Linked DNA regions of Homo sapiens: region 2 is linked to region 1. Evidence: promoter capture Hi-C in 16 types of primary human blood cells and fetal thymus (Javierre and others, 2016). All regions are on one chromosome and are shown on one strand. Each heading gives the region's core, a stretch centred on a gene start or on the middle of the fragment in contact. The rest is flanking DNA. Distances are from core to core; before and after follow the strand shown.

Region 1 (3,766 bases), core at 410-2,909:
AATAAAAAAGGTATGTTCATATTTATTACTTATATTTTTTTCCTTGCAAAATGACAATCTGGAGATAAAAAAAGTTAATTTTATAATTCACATCCTTACAAAAGAATTTTATTTGTTATTCTTCCAAAGGAAATCCACATGCCATTTACTTTATCTCTCACCAATAAAAAAAAATATGGACTGCTCATGAGACTGACAATGTCTTTCTTCATTTGAGTTTCTGAGTTAAGGAAACAAGGATGGAAACAGTTGACTTATGCTGGCCCCAACAAATGCCCTTTCCATTTTTTACTTTTCAGTTCAGCTAACATTTATTGACAGCTTTTACTGTGCCAAGCACTGTGCTAGATGCCAAGGATACAGAAATGATTAAAACACAGTTCCTTCCCTCAAGAATCCCATGCTCTGATGGAGGAGGCGAACAAGTGCTTTAGGCCAAAATGTAAAACTATGAGGGCACCAAAAAGGGAGTGGTTTATTTTGCCTGGAAAGAAATAAAACCTTCATAGAAGAGGTGACATTTGAAAGGGGCCTTGAAGGAAAAAAGGGAAGGTCGGTAGTTGTCTGTATGAAACAATAAAACAGCATAAAAATTCTAAAAGAAAGTTCTGTTTGTATTCTGTGGGCTACCTGTGCAACTGGATCTGAGCATTCCCTGGGGTGGCTGAGGGGGCTGTGTGGACCAGACAGAGCACAGGCTTCCCCGGCCTCATCAGTCCAGGCTGAGTGACCTCCAGTTGCAGGAAGGAGAAAACAGCAGATCCCTTCAGTGCACGGCACCAACACCTCCTATAACGTCAACCCAGGGCTCCGTGTGTCCTCTTCAAGAGGAGAAAACAAGACAAAAAAACAAACAAACAAACAAAAAACACGACAGCAGGGCCTTTCTGCCATTTCCTGGCTCTGAAATGAGGTTAGTGAGTTAAGGAATGAAGCCATCGTGTCTTTATCTGTAAACTGGGGAAAGCTATACCCCCCTCAAGTGCTTCTGTGAGGATGAAAGAGAGAAATGCATGCAAAGCCCCCGGCACATGATCCTAAGAAGTGGGAGCATGGCGATGATGGTGATGATGGTGGCCATGCTAAGGATAAAGGACGGGTCTGGTCTCTGGGCTGCCTTGGGAAGCCTGAGCATCCCACGCGGTGGGCAAGAACAATGTGATCTTGGCTACCCTGGCTCCGACCCAGAGGGACTTCCTGCCCATCTGCACTTCCCTTGCCGTTGTCCTTGTGGCTCAGGTGGTGCAGGCAGCTGCTCCAACTGCTGCCTCTGGTGCCCTGACAGCTGCAGGCAGCCAGGCAATGGGCTATGAAACCGAACCTCAACTGGAAACTATCCGCCCTAAATAATCCCAGCAACAAGGGCCGTCTCACTCCTCTCCCCTGCCTTCCGCCATCCCTGTTTTCACCTGTTGTGGTTTCCCTCTCATTCCACCAGCATTTTCTTTCATTTTCTCTGCCCCTTCGCTGCCTCTTTCCCTCTCTCTCTGTTCTCCCTCCTCCTCGCTCCCTCACCTCTTTTTTCTTCTCTGCATTCTGGCTGCTCCTCCAGTTCTGGTTTCTCCACTGTGGTGTGGCAGAGGATGTGAGGTCAGAAGGCTCAGGGCCTGCCCGGCTTCTGAGATGCGGGGCAAGCCGCCTCGGCCTCCTGGGATGTGGTTTCCTCATCTGCAGAATTGGACCAGAATGACTCTGGAGTGTTCCTTCCGTTCTAAACTCCCGTTCTGTTACATTGTGTTGTGTTAGCCTTTGTGCCTGCTTTTCCTGCTTCAGCTGTCTCATCTGTCCACCTGCCTCTTCCATCTGCATCCCACCACTCGGGTCCAAGCTGCCAGCATCCCTTGCAAGGACCCCTAGAGCAGCCTCCTGCTATTGGAGGTCTCTCTGCTCCTGTTCTTATCCACATCCAATGTGTTATCCACACAGAATCCACAGTGACCTTATCAAAATAGAGATGAGATTGCTCACTCAGCTTAAATCCTCCAAACTCCTTTACACCCCTTTTCTATCATAGGTCCCTGTTTATGTTCTTCAGAGTAATTATTATTGCCTGAAATTATCTTTATTTACTCATGAATTTCTTAATGTTGATGTATCATTTGCTGTCTGTCTTCCACACTAGAATGCAGGCTCCAGGAGTGATGGACTTGATTGTCTCGTTTACTCCATATCCTCACTGGAGGGGCCAGCGCCTTTATTCTCTCCATAAACACTGAATGAAGGAACCTCCCTTTGCCGCAGAATCCATCTCTCCCCTTCTTGAGAGTATTCTCTCCTAACCACACCATTTCTTACTTAGAAATACCTGTGCCTGCCAGAAATCCTGCCCATCCTTCTCTGTCATTTCTGATATAATTCCCCTCATTCACTTTTCTCAGTCAGCCGGGTCCTGTGTTCCCATGGGCTATGGTAAAGAACAATGGCAATGATGAAGCTAGTTCTTCTTTCACTTTAATGTCAATCTGTGCCGTTGGATGCCTTAAGATAAAATAACTTAACAACTCTGAGACTTGAATCTAGTTAATTGTCTTACAATGCTGAGAAAGAGACTTCTTTAAGAAAATATATTAAAACTTCCAAAATTCTGTGCTTGGTTCTTGGGGAGATGTTAGGAGTAGCCATTTTCTTTAAAACACCTCTTTAAAGTAGGTAATGTTAATATGTCCATTTTACAGGTAACAAAACTGGGATTTAGAGAGTGCACAACTGGACAAGGCCATAGAGCCAGAGGTGCATGGAGCCAGGATTTGAATGGAAGAAGTGCAACGCCAGACCCAGGCACCTAGCCACCACATGGGTGACCCTAGTCACCCTCTCACTCCCTAGATTAGATTACTCTGCATTATTTTCACCATAACACTTATAAATACCTGATGCGATCATATTTCTTGTGTCTATTTGCTTCCATTATAACATAAACTCCATCCAGGCAGTTACCATATCTGACCTGTTCACTGCACTTATTCCAATACTTACAATAGTGCCTCATACATAATGGACGTTCAATAAATATTTGCTAAATGAATTAGTTATTTGCATATTGAGGATGAGATATGAAAGAAGGCCTGATAATTCTGTATATAAAACTCCATCTTAGCCAGGCACTGTGGCTCACACCTGTAATTCCCAGCACTTTGGGAGGCCAAGGCAGCAGGATCGCTTGAGCCCAGGAGTTTGAAACCAGCCTGGTCAACATAGACCTCATCCCCACACAAAAAAAAATAATAAATAAAAAATAAAAAATTAGCCAGGCACGGTGGTGCATACATGTAGCCTCAGTTACTCAGGAGGCTGAGGCCAGAGGATCAATTGAGCCCAGGAGTTTGAGGCTGCAGTAAGCCATGATCACTCCAATAATGCACCCCAACCTGGATGACAGAGAAAGACTGGGTCTGTAAAAAACAAAAACCATCTTCTTTGATGATGGAATTTTCTCAAAAGTATCTTCAGTGTTGGCATATCTTTTTCCTTTGAGAATGCATTGGCTTTTTGCAATTAGCCAAAACTGTTAAAGACTGCTTTTTTGTCAAAAAGAACATATGGTCATAAAGCATCATCACTGCTTTTCTTGCCCTGAAATTAGATCTATTTGTGGAGGTGTGGAGGTCTAACTTTCTGTGCTTTGGGAAGCTTATGCACTCTGGTAAGGCCCCTGGACTCTGTCTCAGAATCATCATTTTTATAAGTATAAAAGAAAATATATAGAATTATAAAGAGCCAATTATATTGAATACAGTTATCAAAATGTTAAAAATTGTGACATAGT
Region 2 (3,766 bases), core at 850-3,349, 470 kb after region 1:
CATTTGAATGATTATCGCAGACTTTATGAATTTTCATTTTATATTAATTTGTAGGCCAGGCACAGTGGCTCACGTCTGTAATCCCGGCACTTTGGGAGGCCAAGGCAGGCGGGTCACTGGAGGTCAGGAGTTCAACACCAGCCTGACCAACATGGGGAATCCCCATCTCTACTAAAAATACAAAAATTAGCCAGGTGTGGTGGTACACACCTGTAATCCCAGCTATTTGGGAGGCTGAGGCAGGAGAATTGCTTGAACCTGGGAGGTGGAGGTTGCAGTAAGCCGAGATTGTGCCCCTGCACTCCGGCCTGGTGACAGAGCTAGACTCTGTCTCAAAAAACAATAATAATAATTTGTATTCATTCATTTTCCAATGTGTTCATTCCAGTTCAGGGTCCAGGGGGCCTGCAGCTTATACTCATAGCTCAGAGCAACTGACCCTATAGACAGGACGCCACCCCATTGTAGGGTGCACTCAAATGCACACTCACACTCAAACTGGGACCCTTCAGACATGCCAGTTACCGTATCACACACAGCTTCGGGATGTGGGAGGAAAGCGAAGTATCTGGAGAAAAACTACACAGACATGGGAAGAACGAGCCAACTCTACACAGACAGTGGCCCTGGACAGAGCTGGGCAGGCATCAGTTTTTTTTCTTTTTTTTGTGGGGGGTGAGGGTGGGGCATGGAGTCTCACTCTGTCACCCAGGCTGGATTGCAGTGCAGTGGTGTGATCTCAGCTCACTACAACCTCCACCTCCCGGGTTCAAGAGTTTCTCCTGCCTCAGCCTCCCAAGTAGCTGGGATTACAGGCGCCCGCCACCACACCTGGCTAATTTTTGTATTTTTAGTAGAGACAAGGTTTCACCATGTTGGCCAAGCTGGTCTGGAACTCCTGACCTCAGGTGATCCACCCGCCTTGGCCTCCCAAAGTGATGGGATTACAGGCGTGAGCTACCGCGCCCAGTCAGCATCATTTTTTTTTTCTCATCAACGTTAAAACAATGTTGAACAAAACATTATTCAAAGACCTGCCGTATGGCTATTTTCTAGTTGTGTGACTTTCTTTGGGAAAGTTAGCAACCCTTTCTGAGCTTAAATGTCCTCATTCATAAAATGGGGCTAGTAATAATGCATAAGGTTTTTGTAAGAATTAGAATTAATAAAGTACTTAGACCATAATAACTAATTAGTATTAGTTGTTGTCTTTGCTATTATTTTGATGTGGTGGTTGTTTGGTTTCACCTGTGTACTATCAGGACATGCTGAAATAAAATTTAAGAATTGGCTTTATAATATTAGAAAAGCAAACTTTTGTACGATATGGGTATGAAAAATTGTTGGGAGTCTACTTTTTCTCTCTTACCTAATTTGTCTTAGTCTTTTTAAAGCTTAGATTTTCCAAATGAGCCATAGCAAAATATAATGTTTAAAAATGTTTAAATTCTAAGCACTATGTCATAGTTAAATAACTTAAAGGTGCTACATCTTATACAGTCCAAAAGGAACATAATTAGTAAAATTCTACAATTTAGAAAAAAAAATAGCTGACAGTGACTGATTTATAAAAGTAAAATATCTTTTGTTAATACTAATATTCTTTTTATAAATTAATTGATGACAAAAAATTGAGTGAATGAGATTTGCAGTTCATTTATCTATGATGCTGGTTTATTTAATCTCTATAATTTGCTGTATTTGAAAGAGCATAGTGATAGAGGTCATGATAAAATCTAGGCCCAGTGCCACAACTAAATCCCTGTAGGAACTCTCAAGGTTTTGATTTCATCTCTGAATGGGAATAACACCTTCCAAGAATATTATGAAGATTAAAAAGTTACGTATCATAAATACACACAGAGTAACAATACTGGGAATATTGCAACTTGTAAGAAAGAGGAAGCATATGGCATATTCTGATGGTTAGGGATATGGACTCTGTAGCTGGGATGCCTGAAAGAGAACTCTGACTCCACTAATGGCTAGTTATATGAAATTGTGCAGATAATTTAACTTCTCTGAGTTTGCATTTTTCTTTGTCTATATAATGGGGATAATAATAGTACCTACCTCACACATAGTGTTAATTTCTATTAGTGGTTCTCATTAAGATAGTATTGTTGTTCATCCCTGGTTGTTAGCCATCATGTATCTGAGTTAGAGAGTCATTGATTTTAGAAAGTCCCGAGGAGACTATCAGGTCAAGCAACCTGCCTCCTGCTAGACAATTAGCTTTATCCATGAGTTACCAAAGAGGGAGCCGAAACCCAGGGAAGCTGAAAGAGCTGTTGATTGTCACCCTGTGAGTTGGTGATAGAAAGATATCTGGAATCCCAGTAGTTGCCCATTTCCTAGTTCTGGGCTCTGCATTGCACTAGAATACTGTGCCATTCTAAATATGAAAAGGCAGTATGACCATTGTGCTTGTCACTTTCCATTCCCTAGATGCTATCTTATATTTGTCCTTATGAAATTTAACCTGTGACTTTCAGATCACTTAGAACCTTGGTTGGACAGTGTTTTCTAGTGTTATTTAGTATATTTTTTTGTCATCTTCTGTTGTCTTTGGGTTCCCCTAAAAGAGCTATACTCTGGGTGCCAGGAAACTTCACACATGACTGTCTTCTCTTCCTCGACTTCCCTCTCTACTTACCTTTCCAGCTCGTAGCAAATCAGAAGACTTCTCTGACACCTCTCTATGTCTAAAGGTCCTTTGATATTCTCACATGGCGGCATGAATCACAGTGTATTTTAACTGGCCTTTTCCTTGTATGTCTCCTACAATGAGCTGTTGAAGCTTCATGAAAACACAATCTGTTTTACTCAGGGCAGTTATAATTCCAATTACAAAGCACATTTCCTGGCTCCTGGCTAGGAACTCGATCATTTTTCGATGCTTCCTTGCTCAGGACTTTCTGATTCCTTCTTAAAACATTTTGGGGCATCTCCTTCTCCTGGTTTTTGGAAACATATTCTCATACTGCTATGAAGGTTTTTACTGACATTTCCAACTTCTCTTAAATTGATTCAGCAAATGTTTTTCCATAATAAATGTCATTGATATGTCATCAATATGGAGAGCAACAACAGAATGCATTGAGTAAACTCCTCCCCTGGAGGTCTGAGAATCTAGATTCCAGTTCTCACAGAGCCACCACCTTGGTGACCTTGGACAGTAGACCTTCTAAGCCTCAGTTTCCTTATCCCTTAAGTGGGGATATTAATAGAACCCATTCTCAGAGATGTTGCCAAGATTAAAATAACCAAGATAATTCCTGTAGATGATTTGGCATAGTGCCTGCCACGTACTAAGCAAGAGTTAGCCTCCGTCATTATAGTATGATCATAAAAAATGAACAGACTAAACGAAGTAACCAGAAGGAAAGAAATTTTAATTCTTAAAATGTAATAGTTTCTTGGTTTTTTTTTTTCTGTGAAACACCTGCATGGCACCTTTTTGTTATTCATACTGTTTTGACTGTGGCTGTCGTAGATTCTTGTTGAAAGTCTGAGAGACTGAGACTTGTCATTTTGAACATGGCATCAGTGGAACAGCTTATGATTCAATAATTGCATCATCCTGGACAAGCACCAGTAGAAGTGAGTCAGGACATGTGATAAAAAGACATTCATTTTGCCCCTCCTCCCTCTCTGTATTTTCTTTGCTATAAAATTATTGATGTTAAGCCCATAGTACTAATATTTCAGTTCAATTCATAATAAAATTTGAGGGCATTTGAATATATTATCTGTTGTAAATTAT

Evidence for each region. Contacts are between HindIII fragments. The CHiCAGO score rates a contact against its expected background, and 5 or more counts as called.
Region 2: a fragment that was not itself captured here is called in contact with the fragment with the promoter of HMHB1 in region 1 in 1 of 17 cell types (monocytes); the score reaches 5.1 in monocytes.

The regions. Positions count from the first base shown.
Region 1 is chr5:143,810,054-143,813,819 of GRCh38, reverse strand. HMHB1 (histocompatibility minor HB-1) reads right to left here and starts at 1,659. Exons shown (of 2, transcript NM_021182.3): 1 at 1,516-1,659. The coding sequence starts at 1,552. The HindIII fragment of the contact is 5,854 bases long and covers 1-3,632 here.
Region 2 is chr5:143,341,797-143,345,562 of GRCh38, reverse strand. The region is part of intron 2 of NR3C1 (nuclear receptor subfamily 3 group C member 1); the gene reads left to right. Among named protein-coding and RNA genes, the nearest start is that of NR3C1, 60 kb to the left of the region's middle. The HindIII fragment of the contact is 1,406 bases long and covers 1,397-2,802 here.